Linked DNA regions of Homo sapiens: region 2 is linked to region 1. Evidence: promoter capture Hi-C in 16 types of primary human blood cells and fetal thymus (Javierre and others, 2016). All regions are on one chromosome and are shown on one strand. The core of a region is centred on a gene start or on the middle of the fragment in contact, and the rest is flanking DNA. Distances in the headings are between cores, read along the strand shown.

Region 1 (6,865 bases), core at 1,214-3,713:
GCTCAGGGGGCATCATGGAACCTGCCGACATGTGATGTCTCCCCCGGACCCCCAGCTTTAAAATTTCTCTCTTTTGTGCTCTGTCCCTTTATTTCTCAGGCTGGCCGACACTTAGGGAGAACAGAAAAGAACCTACGTGGAATATTGGGGGTGAATTTTGCCCGATATCTGGCTGAATTTCCCCTGATAATGCCACTCTCTATGTCCATGTGTACACATTGTTTAGCACCCACTTATGAATGAGAACATGTGATATTCACTTTCTGTGCCTGGCTTGTTTCACTTAAGATAATCCCCTCCAGTTGTATCCATGTTGCTATAAAAGACATTATTTTATTCCTTTTTATGGCTAAATAGTATTCAATGGTGTATATATACCACATTTTATTTAACCATTCATCTGTTGATTCCCTATTTTTGCTATTGTAAATAGCATTTGGACCACATTTCAAGTACTTAATTAGTGGCCACATGCAGCAAGTGACTATCACATTGGACAATGTAGCCCCAACCCACTGTATGACCTTGGGTAAGACTTGCAAACTGTCATTGCTTCAATATCTCCATCTATAAAATGGGGATGGCAACAATACCTCACTAAGAGTGTAAAGACTGAGTTACTGTGTGTAAAGCACTTCACGCCTCCCCATCGGTGCTTCACCCTGGGGCTGCAATGAGCACCCAATCTTAGTGTCAGATGACACAGCACAGCAAGACCGAGGCCCTTGGTTCAGGAAAGTCCATGCTGCCACCTCTTCAGGGTCAGGAAAGTACAGTTTCCACCTCTTACAAATAGGACTGTTTGTCTGCTCCTCCTGGGTCAAAGTAACTTCGGGTTCAGGTCCTGGATCCAGCAAAGGGTTTGCTTAACATTGCAAGAAAGATGTTGCCTCATGGTCAAAAGTCAGGCGTAGGATGAGACAGGCAGACACGCACACATTCACACCCACGTTTTGCAAAGATGGACTGACCCTGTCAGAGGATGTGTGGGTGAAGGTGCACAGTGAGGATAGAGACATATGGGAGTCCAGTAGACATCAATCAAACTGGACTCAGTTTGCACACACCTGGAGCTCAAGAGTCTCCAGGGGGAAAACAGAGACACAAAGTCAGACAGAGAGAGAGCCAGAGAAATTTCCTGCACCGTGAAGATAGTCAGAGGCAGGGAAGAAACTCCTTAGCACTAGTTAGAGTGATCAGAAACCAAGAGGACCTGATCGCTGTACCTGCCAGGTCTCAGTTTCTGTCTCCTTCCAACTGACCACCTCTTCCTCTGAGACTCACCAGTTCTGCATCTCTTGCTCCTCCTTCTGTTTCTCCGACCACTTCCACCTGTGGCTGTCACAGAAGGGCGGATGAAGGAGGGGACACTGGAGATAGACTCAGCATCTGCAGGCTTCCAAAGAGAGGGGCTAGGAGATCCACCAACACACCAGCACAAATACACCAGCACACACAGATACACACAATTGGTTCATGTATTGCTAGGTTACAGTTTGCTATGCTACAAAGGCAGTAGGCCAAATTTGATTGAATTGAATAATTCCTTATTTTCATCAGCTTCTCCTTTTTTTTTTTTTTTTTTTTTTTTTGAGATGGAGTATTGCTGTGTCACCCAGGCTGGAGTGCAGTGGTGTAATCTTGGCTCACTGCAGCCTCCACCTCCCAGGTTCAAGTGATTCTCTTGCCTCAGCCTCCCGAGTAGCTGGGATTAAAAGTACCCACCATCACGCCCGGTTAATTTTTGTGTTTTTAGTACAGATGGGGTTTTGCCATGTGGGCCAGGATGGTCTCGAACTCTTGACCTCAATTGATCTGCCCCCCTCAGCTTCCCAACGTGCTGGGATTACAGGTGTGAGCCACCGCACCCAGCCAGCCTCTCAGTTTTGAACATGCACTACCACCACCTCCACAACACACAAATGTAAATGCACTTTCGTATATAAAACTGTATAAATACAAGGAAGCTCATACACATGCAAGGATACACACATAAGCACCCCCAGATTCAACCACAGAAATATACGCCAGTACATTTGCATAAATTCAAACACCCCTTTACATGTAAAAATCATATAAGCACATACAGGGATGCAAGCAGGCATGGACAAATGCATGCAAGCACAGACAAACAGACAAAGCTAAGTAAAAAAGTGCAAGCTCACCTATGCTTACAAAAATAGACATACATATACCCACAAACCCACACACCCACACATTCACTTGCTCACCTGGACTTTGATATCTCTACCACTGTATCCCTGCCAATATCTACAGAGTGGGTAAAGGGATAGGCATCAGGTCACTGGGTTGCCCAAGCAGGAAGTCTGGGTTCCCTAACAACTTTTTCTAAGCTAATGCTCCTGGATGATGATGAAAAAGGAGGTGGGGAATGGATGAAATTTTATAACAGGGTGCAGAGGCAGGGTCAGGATAAAAGGCCCAGTTGGAGGCTGCAGCAGGGTGCAGGGCAGTCAGACCAGGACCATGGAACTCAGCGTCCTCCTCTTCCTTGCACTCCTCACAGGACTCTTGCTACTCCTGGTTCAGCGCCACCCTAACACCCATGACCGCCTCCCACCAGGGCCCCGCCCTCTGCCCCTTTTGGGAAACCTTCTGCAGATGGATAGAAGAGGCCTACTCAAATCCTTTCTGAGGGTAAGACACAGACGAATGGGGTCTGAGGGTGAGCTGCTTCTTGCCTTGGTACTTGGGGAAGCTTCACCAAACAGAATGAGGCAGACTTCCAGAGTCAGGGGTGGCACGGGCATGGTTGGTGAGTACGGAGCATGGTGAAGCATGATGGGTGGTATTATTAGGAGAAAAGCATCAAATTAAATTTAGCAGAGTTTATTTGAGCAAAGAAGTGACTCATGAGTTGGACAGCTCCCTAAACCAGGAAAGACACCACACGGCAGTATGGTCAAGTGGTATTTACAGGCAGAAAAAGGAGGTGACATACAGAAACAGCCTGATTGGCCACAGATCACAGCTTGCCTTACTTGGTCACAATCTGAGCAGTTTGCAGCCTGTGTGGACTGAAAGCCCAGCTGCTCTGATTAGCCAACACTTGGCTACTTGTCACAAGAATATATTCATTTGGGCCAGGTGCAGTGGCTCATGCCTGTAATCCCAGTGCTTTTGGAGGCCGAGGTGGTGGATCACCTGAGGTCAGGAGTTCGAGACCAGCCTGGCCAACATGGTGAAACCTTGTCTCTACTAAAAATACAAATATTAGCTGGGCATAGTGATGCGTGCCTGTAATCTCAGCTACCCAGGAGGCTGAGGAAGGAGAATCACTTGAATCCAGGAGGCAGAGGTTGCAGTGAGCCAAAATCTTACCACTGCACTCCATCCTGGGTGACAGAGTGAGACTCCTTCTCAAAAAAAAAAAAAAAAAAAAGAATATACTCCCAAGTTAGGTTGCAGTTCACTCTACAGAGAGAGCTTTAGGTCAAATTTAATTTAATTAAACAATTCTCCCCTTTTGGTCAGCCTCAAAATTTTGAGATTGACCAAAACCTTGGGCATCAACATTACTTCTGTCACCATCATAATGGACTTGTCTGCTCTCAGTATGGAATTCACAATGGACAATGTCAACGTAGTTGAGTGATTCTTTACCTTTTCTTCATGTTTTTGTTGTTCCCACTGTAATGAGCCCACTGGATGTACAAAGAATGGCTGCATATGAGCATTTAAGACTCTTTTTTTTTCTGAGACAGGGCCTCACTCTGTCAGCCAGGCTGAAGTGCTGTGGCATGATCACGTCTCACTGCAGCCTTGACCTCCCAAGGCTCAAGTGATCCTCCTGCCTCAGCCCCCCAAGTAGCTGGAACTACAGGTGCATGCCACCACGCCCAGCTAATTTTTGTATTTTTTGTAGAGACAGGGTTTTGCCATGTTGCCCAGACTGGTCTTAAACTCCTGGGCTCAAGCAATCCACCTGCCTCGGCCTCCCAAAGTGCTAGGATTACATGTGTGAGCCACCGCACCCGGCCAAGACTCTTGAGAAAATACAACACATCAGGGAGACTGTTATGATGGCTCTCAGGAGGGTAATACGAAGAAAATGAAGTCACTGGGCCTGTAATAAACTTTGAGGAATGTGGACTTGGGGGTATAGATAAGGTCCACTGTCCACAGAGAGAAGAAAGGCTGTTAATAGTCTCTTTTAACTTGAGTGTGTCCATGAACCAAACTGATCAAAATCGAATAATTCGAAGTTCAGACAATAAAGATAGTTCAATAGTATTAGAGTCCAATTGGTCATAGATTTTGTTCAGGGCATGATGGTAATTAAGGACCAGAGCTTGCTATAAAATAACTTGATTTATAGAGACATTCATTTGTAGTTGGCCTGGTAACATATAGTATCCTGGAGACCCACTAGAAGAAACATTAAGAGTAGAAAAGTTTGGGATAGCCAGGCTTGCTGTGTTAGTCCATTCTCACACTGTTATAAAGACATACCTGAGACTGGGTAATTTATAAACAAAAGGGATGTAACTGACTCACAGTTCCACATGGCTGGGGAGGCCCCAGGAAAATACAATTCATGGCAAAAGGTGAATGAGAAGCAGGAAACTTACAATCATGATGGAAGGTGAAGGAGAAGCAAGTACCTTCTTCACAAGGTGGCAGGAAAAAGAGAGAGAGCCAAGGGGGAAGAGCCTCTTATAAAACCATCAGATCTTGTGAGAACTCACTCACTATCACAAGAACAGCATGGGGGAAACCGCCCCCAGGATCCAGTTACCTCCTACTAGGTCCTTCCCTCCACACCTGGGGATTACAATTCAAGATGAGATTTGGGTGAGGACACAGAGCCAAACCATATCACTTACCATCACCATTCAGGATGCTTGCAAACCAACTGCTAGCTGCACCTGTAAACACATATCTGTTTCTTTCCCCTGAGAAATGTCCTTAGTGTATTTGTGGCAGTGTCTAGAGAAACAGCAGTGTCAGCCGCATTTTAAATTAAGTTATCTGCACTAGTGAATTCACTGGAAAGATAAGAGCAATATTTGGTTTTCTTCAGCACCATACACAAGCCTCCAAGATGGGCATAGAGGAGATCTAAAATTGCGTGATGTTCCATTAAGCGTTTTTGTTGCCACAAATGTTCTCATCTCAGTTTGGAGAGTGGCTTCTACCCATCTGAACTCCTTGGAGGTTCAATTAGCTGCAAAATTCAAGATGTCCCTTAATGTATAACTTAGCCTCAGATTCCATACAACTGTCACCCAAATACCACCAAGAATGAGCACCCAGGAACCCAACTGGAACCTTTTCTGAACAGAAACCAACTTATCTTCGTCGATTTTGAGGTTGATAGTAATTTCAGTTATTGACTGTTTTGGCTTTTAACTATGGGAGGTATTAGGAAACTCTCAGGGAAACAATTTGGAAAGCAGCAGTGAGCTAGGCCAAATAGCAAGTTCTGGACCTGTGAGGAGAAAGAACAGAGTAAGCAAACCTCAAGATACTCAAGGTAGGCACTCGTGGTGTTGGAAAAGAGGGTCACCTACTGGCATTAGAGCAGAGATCAGTTAGATTTGTTTACCCATAAGTCTGCATAGCTCCTGAACAAGGTGGGAAACTTACTTTTTTGTGGTCTTTTTCTAGCATGCTGCGAAGGTGCATAACCACATTTAGTTGGAAAGAGACTTTACTGTATTTACTTATTTATTTGTTTTTAATAGAGTTGGGGTCGTGCTATGTTGAACTCTTGGCCTCAAGCAATCCTCCCATCTCAATCTCCCAAAGTGCTGGGATTACAAGCATGAGCCACCATGCCTGGCCACTTTACATATTTAATCCAGTAACATTACACACGCAATTGCCCACACCCCCATAGGTAGTCCCCAGGTCTTGCATACGGGATGCCTGGAAGCAAAATATGCCTTTTGCAGCCATTATTCAGATACATTTCCTATATTTAGTAGTGATTATGTTATTAGCTAGTTAATAGTATGTTATTACGTACTGTTATTATATTAACTAACTAATAACATAATCACTACTAAATATTTCCAGTGAGTGCAAAAAAGCAAGTGGCAATGATGTCTAGAATATCAAGATATAGCTTTCCACTCCTCCTTTGGGGTTTCTGGGTGATTCTCATTGGGAACATGAAGAGGCATTGGCACCAGTGAAATTATTTCCTGATTTTGGGGCGTTGGTTCAGAAACTCAACAACTCCTTGTTTTTTTTGTTTGTTTGCTTGTTTTGCTAGAGTATAAGCCTTTGCTAAAGCCATTCACAGATTATAGTCCTATGGATTTTCTTGTAAGGAAAGGGAAAGGGTTAGGACAGCAAGAAATGGGGAAGAAAGGATAAAAGATAATGCTTTCATGATGGAAGAGAAATCTTGATCCACAATCTTGGAAAAGCTGTCCGCATATAAGATGCCAACTGCTTCTGGGGAAAAACTTCCCTGGTCAGCTTTGCCTTAAGGTCTCCAACAGACATACAGTTCTAGGAGTCTAGAAGGGTCCTTTCCAATGGAGAGATGTGGATCCAAGATCCGAGACCCTGACATTTTGCTACAGAGAAGAACTTGGCATTGTCCTTCCCAATGGAGTACAAGGAACAGTCTTAGAAGAACTTGGTACGGTCTCTTCCAATGGAGTTCAAGGACAGTTTGTCTGGTGTCATTTCCAAAGGGCCCAACCTCTAAATTCTAGATCATGAAAGGTCTGGTTGTCATCAACCGATGTGTCATCAATGACTCATTTTACCTGGTGAAAACATGCTTTGGCATAAAGTATTATAGCCTTGCATTATTGAGTCATATCAGAGTTTATAAGAGTGGGAGATACATGAGATTCTATTATTAGGGGCATAGGCCCTCTATTAC
Region 2 (6,865 bases), core at 492-2,991, 410 kb after region 1:
TCACATCTCAGACATGCTCTTTTCTTGGCCCCAGGTCACCACCATCTCCTGGTTTCCCCCTAACTCTCTGGGCGTTCCTTCTGAGTCTCCTTTGCTAGCTTGTCACATGTCTCTGACTGCTCAAGTTGGAAGGCCTAGGGCTTGGTCCTGGGACCTCTTCTCTTTTCCATCTACACTCACTTCGTTCAGGCAATAGCCTGAAATACCATCTATATAGCCAGAGAGTTCCAAATTGCCTATGTCCAGCTTGGGTCTCTCTTCTGATTTCCAGACTTGTACAGATCTGGGCAGAAACCTTAGTTATGCCTGAATCTTTTTCCTCGCACTCAAACCAAACTATACGTAAGTTTTGTCCGTATTACTTTCAAACTACATCCAGAATCTCATCACCTCCACTACTCCTGCTCTGGCTGGAGCCACCATCACCTCCCTGTTTTCCCCCATACTCCCCACAATCAACACAGCAGCCAAATTTTGTTAAAATGTATTGGGGCTGGGCGTGGTGGCTCATACCTGTATGAGCACTTTGGGAGGAGGATTGCTTGAGCCCAGGAGTTCAAGACCAACCTGGGTGACATCGTGAGACGCTGTCTCAATTTTTTTTTTTTTTGAGACAGAGTCTTGCTTTGTCGCTCACGCTGGAGTACAATGGCACGATCTCGGCCCACTGCAACTTCTGCCTCCCAGGTTCAAGTGATTGTCCTGCCTCAGCCTCCCGAGTAGCTGGGATTACAGGCGCCCGCCACCATGCCTGGCTAGTTTTTGTATTTTTAGTAGAGACAGGGTTTCGCCATGTTGGCCAGGCTGGTCTCGAACTCCTGACCTCAGGTGAGCCACAGGTCTTGGCCTCCCAAAGTGTGGGGATTACAGGCGTGAGCCACCGCCCCCGGCCTCCCGTCTCAAACGTTAAAGAGAAATATTCTTGGAGTTAATCTACTTCTGAGAGTTATTTAGCTAGGAAAAGGGGATATTTGCTCTATAGGTAAGACTTGCCCTAATCTTTTTTTTTTTTTTTTTTTTGACTTGCCCTAATCTTAGGGATATTTACTTGTGTGGAGAGATGCAGTGAGGTAGCGGTGGGGATGTATTTCTCAACCCAGCGCAATGACATTATCTTCAATTTGAGGAGTATTTACGTGGGTGAAAGATCCGCCACAGTCCACAGTATGCAAATAGACAGGTTTGCTTCAGTCCGGGATGCAAGGACCTAGAGGGTGTGTGTGTGGGGGGTGGGGGTGGGAGGGTGGAGGAGGAATCGAGTTAAGGGGGATATTTACCCTGGCGAGGTGATTTTCCCTATTCTGAAATATCAATTCTTGGGCGGACAGTCTGCCCCTCCTCTCATTCTCAGAGATAGTTACAAAGATGGAACTATCTTCTCCTTTCTAGTCGTGAGGGAGAGATGTGTGTATCCCTGCGTATTTAGTAGTATTCAATCGGACAAGAAATCATGCATCAACGCAGGAGTGACATTTACCAGCTGGTATCGTGAGGAGGTGGGCACTCGGTTGCACAGTACACGGTAGTCCCTCTCCAAAAGAAAGACCTGGGTGAAGTTCTTACCTTGCAGGAAGGAAGCAGAGCCATCTGGCCGCGACAGCAGGTTCTGTTCGCAGGCAAAGTGCCGGAGGCTGCAGCCAGGACCCCGAGGGCTGGACCCTGTTCCATTTTCAGCACGGATTTTGGCGTCAGTATGCGTCTCCTCCTCCATCGCGCCGAGCCCACGTGCGGCTGCAGTTGTCACTTCCGCCTGGCAGCGCGCGCCGCAAACAGGCTGCGTAACCAGTGCGCACGCGCCGGGCTGGGCCATCCTCCTGGGCGTCCGCACGTGGCTTAGCGTTTACCAACAATCTGGCTCCGCCCAGTCCCACCTCCTAACTCTGGCAACGCCATTGGACATTTGGGAACAGAAGGCAGGCCTTGGCATTGATCCGCTTTACTCTGGGCCCCCGGGCCCTAAATCCCTGAGGCCCTGGTCAGGTTGCCCTCTTCTTTGCCTGTTACAGGAGTAACTACAATGAGGCGATTGGAGAAAATTTTGGGTAGATAGATTTTTTTTTCTCCAAATCTCTGTGCATTCTATCTACCACAGAACGGGAAGAAGATGGTTTTCTTGTCAGATGGTGCTGGAGTTTGCGTCAGGCACATAAAGAGGCAGCCCCGAATCTAGCCTACGTGAGTGCCGGACCGCTGAGTGGTTGTTAGCCAAGATGGCGGTAGCGATCGCTGCAGCGAGGGTCTGGCGGCTAAACCGTGGTTTGAGCCAGGCTGCCCTCCTGCTGCTGCGGCAGCCTGGGGCTCGGGGACTGGCTAGATCTGTGAGTACCTGGGCCCCAGGCGGTTTTCCCAAAGGGGATTAGGGATGTAAAGGCTATCTTCAGAGTGTGGGGTCCCTGAAGGATATGAAGGAAGGGCTGTCACAAAAGGGAAAAAGAGTGGGAGACTCCTTGGAGAAGACACCGAAGGGAAGATCTGCCACTTCCTTAGGAGACGAAAAGAACTTCCACTTCTTTAGGAGAGGAAAAAACCCGTTTGCAACTTCTTTGTGGGCCCTGAGGGAGACGACTTGAAGAGAGAGATGGGGGTTCCTTATTAGCTGCCACTGGTATTCAGGGGAGGCTCCTTGGAGGAACAGGGGAAGACCGCAAGACCTTCTCCCTCAGGGTTTGGAGAATGAAACTGACTTTGTAAGGGAGGGACTTTCTTCTGGGCAAAGATCCCTCTTCAAGAAGAAGAAAGAAGAGAACAGGTCCCTGTCACAGGCTGCATAGGGCCTTGTATTTCTTTGCTCCTTTGCCACAATTCTGATTTTAAAATGAATTGTGTAAAAAATTTGTTTGATTCCTGTGTCTCTTGATCGAATATCAAGACAGAGAATTCGTGTGTTCTGGACACTGTACAGAGGAGACGATTAATATTTGTTGAATTAATGAGGGGAAAAAAGGAGGGAGAGAGGTACAGACAGGGCACTTTGCCCACATTTCTTAGAAACACTTGAGAAGGCTTTGTTTCTTGTCAAAAGGGTCACAATCCCTTCAGGTGGATGCTGCTAAGGGCAAGATTACACTGCAAAAAACCTAGGTGGAAGCCTATCTTTAGACGGGGAGAGGCAATGGGTTGCAGAAGAGCTTTGAACTACAGTTGACAGATAGGAGAGTAGTGGTTACATGGGTGGATGCATGTCCTTGCTCTGCCGCTTTCCACTTGTGTAGCCTTGGCCAACGGACTGCACTTCTCTGGATCTATGGAGCTAATTTTCCTCTCTAAAATATTAACAGTGGCCACCTCATAGGGCTGTGAAAAATCAATATGTAAAATGCTAAGGACTGGACCTGGCACATCCTAAGGGCAATAGGAATGTTGATAGTGAGGGTGGAGGGAAGGGACAGAAACTAACCTTGGAGATGGGGAGAAGAAAGGGGTGACCTTGGGAAGGCCTGGATTGGTGAGGCCCTGGGGAAAAAAATCTGAAAAGATATTGTGAGGTTGAGTCTGATCCTCTGATCCCCAATCCATAAGGAGGGGAAGATGGAATCTGTAGAAAGAAGCTCTGGGTAGGGGAACAAACGGGAGGAGGGTGAAGAAGATGGGCCAGGAGTAGGACGTAGTAGGTATCTAGGAACGGAGTCACTTGAAACAGGTAAATACAGAAGGGCTGCAGGAGCAAGGTGTGGGTAGGGCAGTCTCTTGCCTTTGGGCTGGAGACCTTTTCACTTTTTTTTTTTTTTTTTTTTTTGAGCAGTTCATATCCTCCACAGCTGATCTCAGTCCCAGGGGCCCATTGGCTGGGCAAGTGGGGCAGGAGGTGGGCAGGACTGGGGCAGGCTAGGGAAAGGTCATTTATGGCTGATTAAATCTTTCTCTCCTGTCTCAATCTCTTGATTACCTTTCCTCTTGCTTCCCCTACTTCATTTTTGGTGGGGAGTGGGGAGGGAAGAAGTCCCTACTTTTTATTTATATATATTTAAATTTGTATTATCTTAAGAGTTATTGTTTTTTCCCCTTTATTTCTCCCACCTGTTCTTTCTCTCTTCTTCTTTCTTTCCTCTCCTTCTCCTCTCCTCTCCTCCCCTCTCCTTTTTCTTTTCTTTTCTTTTTCCCTTTCCTTTCCTTTCCTTTTCTCTTCTCTTTTCTCTCTCTCTTTCTTTCTGTACCTCTCTTTCCTTTTTCTTTTTTTTTCTTTTTTGAGACAGAGTTTCACTCTCTCGCCTAGGCTGGAGTGCAGCAGCATGATCTTGACTTACTGCAATCTCTGCCTGCCGAGTTCAAGCAATTCTCCTGCCTCAGCCTCCCTAGTAGCTGGGATTACAGGCATGCACTATCACGCCTGGCTAATTTTTGTATTTTTGGTAGGGACGAGGTTTCACCATGTTGTCCAGGCTGGTCTCGAACTTCTGGCCTCAAGTTCCGCCTGTCTTGGCCTCCAAAAGCATGAGCCACTGCGCCTAGCCTTTTCTTTTTTTGAGACAAGGTCTCACTCTGTCACCCAGGCTGGAGTGAGTGCAGTGGTGTGATCATGGCTCACTGCAGCCTCAACCTCCTGGGCTCAAGCAATCCCCCCACCTCCACCTCCTAAGTAGCTGGGACCACAGGCACGTGCTACTACGCCTGGCTAATTTTTAATTTTTTTTTTTTTTTTTGAGACGGAGTCTTGCTCTGTCACCCAAGCTGGAGTGCAGTGGCACGATCTCGGCTCACTGCAACCTCCACTTCCCAGGTTCAAGTGATTCTCCTGCCTCAGCCTCCCAAATAGCTGGGACTACTGGCGTGCGCCACCATACCCAGTTAATTTTTGTATTTTTAGTAGAGATGGGGTTTCACCATGTTGACCAGGCTGGTCTTGAACTCCTGATCTAAGGTGATCTGCCCGCCTCGGCCTCCCAAAGTGCTGGGATTACAGGCATAAGCCACTGTGCCTGGCTGCGCCTGGCTAATTTTTAAATCTTTGTAGAGATGGGGTTTTGCCATGTTTTCCAGGCTGGTCTTGAACTCCTGGACTCAAGCGATCTTCCTGCCTCAGCCTCCCAAAGTGCAGGATGACAAGCGTGAGCCACCTTGCCTGGCCATATTATTAAATTATCATGAGTTTAAGTTTAAGTAGCCACAAGTGGGCTGGGTGCGGTGGCTCATGCCTGTAATCCCAGCATTTTGAGAGGCCAAGGTGGGCGGGTTGCCTGAGGCCAGGAGTTCAAGACCAGCCTGGCCAACATGGTGAAACCCCATCTCTACTAAAAATACAAAAAAATTAGCTGGGCGTAATGGCGTGTGCCTGTAGTCCCAGCTACTTGGGAGGCTGAGGCAGAAGAATCGCTTGAACCTGGGAGGCGGAGATTGCAGTGAGCCGAGATCGCACCACTATACCCCAGCCTAGGTGACAGAGCAGCCCTCTGTCTCAAAATAAGATAGCCACAAGTGGTTGGTGGCTGCCACATTAGATGGTGCAGGGTTTTTGTTTTGTTTTGTTTTTTGTTTTTTCGAGGTGGAGTTTTGCTCTCATTGCCTAGGCTGGAGTGCAATGGCATGATCTTGGCTCACCACAACCTCCTCTTCCTGGGTTCAAGCGATTCTCCTGCCTCAGCCTCCCGAGTAGCTGGGATTACAGGCATGCACCACCATGCCTGGCTAATTTTGTATTTTTAGTAGAGACAGGGTTTCTCCATGTTGATCAGGCTGGTCTTGAACTCCCGACCTCAGGCGACCCACCCACCTCGGCCTCCCAGAGTGCTGGGATTACAGGTGTGAGCCACCATGCCTGGCTAAGATGATGCAGTTTTATCCAGGTGGAGATGAAGAAATAGTCAGGGAAAGGTTGAGAGGCTGCATATTGTAGACAGATTGGATTACTGGGTTCACTGGGGAAGATTGGATTAGAAGGAGGAGTGGGGCTGCTTTACTTGTCCCCGACTTCTTGCCCCTGCTCTGCCCACTCCTTCATTGAATACCCTGCTGCCCTGCAGATGTGTTTGCCTGATTTTCACCTCCCTTCCTGTCTCTGTTATCATAGCAGACGTTTTAGTGCTCAGGGAAAGGAGGAGGAAGGAAACTCAGATTGTCAAGGAATTGTGAGTCAGTTTCTCAGCCACTACCCCAGGCCTGGGCTTGGCTAAGTCATTTCACCTCTCTGACCCTAGCTAGTGGGGTGAATAGAGTCCCTACCCTGTTGGAAGTCAGGAAGCCCCTGGAGCTCGCTCTGTGCTAATTATCGGTGACTATTTCTGTGACCCAGCTCTTCAGGGGCAGCCTGTCTGGGGGTTCCAGTGCCCTGTGCAGTATCTCCAAGTGGTAGGTACTCAGTGTATGTATTAGTCCGTTTTCAGGCTGCTAATAAAAACACACCCAAGACTGGGTAATTTATAAAGAAAAAGAGGCTTAATGGACTCACAGTTCCACATGGCTGGGGAAGCCTCACAAACATGGCGGAAGGCAAATGAGGAGCAAAGTCACATCTTACATGGTGGCAGGCAGACAGAGTGCTTGCAGGGGAACTCCCCTTTATAAAACCATCAGATCTCGTGAGACTTATTCAGTATAATGAGAACAGCACGTGAAAGATCCACCCCCATAATTCAATTACCTCCCACTGGCTCCTTCCCACAACATGTGGGAATTATGGGAGCTATAATTCAAGATGAGATTTGAGTGGGGACAGAGACAAACCATGTCAGTGTGTATTGTGGGATGAATGGAGATGGTCATTACAGTCTTCTAAGTGTATGGGTCCATCTCTTACTTGCTAGTGTGTTAAGAAACCTGGCCTCCTTTTTCACATCTTGAGGCACTGAATGGTTTACAAATCCAACTCTAATTTTTTATTATATTTAATACACCAATAGTGCAAGGCCTTTATTGGTAGTACTCTCCTATT

The links. Contacts are between HindIII fragments. The CHiCAGO score rates a contact against its expected background, and 5 or more counts as called.
Region 2: a contact is called between the fragment with the promoter of EXOSC5 here and the fragment with the promoter of CYP2B6 in region 1, in 6 of 17 cell types (total CD8 T cells, total CD4 T cells, total B cells and 3 more). The highest score is 9.8, in total CD8 T cells.

What each region holds. Positions count from the first base shown.
Region 1 is chr19:40,988,819-40,995,683 of GRCh38, forward strand. CYP2B6 (cytochrome P450 family 2 subfamily B member 6) reads left to right here and starts at 2,464. Exons shown (of 9, transcript NM_000767.5): 1 at 2,464-2,658. The coding sequence starts at 2,488. RefSeq lists promoters at 235-2,503, 804-2,469, enhancers at 728-775, 758-777 and cis regulatory regions at 819-831, 2,206-2,229. The HindIII fragment of the contact is 6,148 bases long and covers 1-2,717 here.
Region 2 is chr19:41,395,618-41,402,482 of GRCh38, forward strand. It overlaps EXOSC5 (exosome component 5), which reads right to left and starts at 1,742. Exons shown (of 6, transcript NM_020158.4): 1 at 1,564-1,742. The coding sequence starts at 1,711. It overlaps BCKDHA (branched chain keto acid dehydrogenase E1 subunit alpha), which reads left to right and starts at 2,201. Exons shown (of 9, transcript NM_000709.4): 1 at 2,201-2,318. The coding sequence starts at 2,211. RefSeq lists a silencer at 1,665-1,953 and enhancers at 1,712-2,384, 1,950-2,229, 2,385-3,056. The HindIII fragment of the contact is 9,689 bases long and covers 1-6,865 here.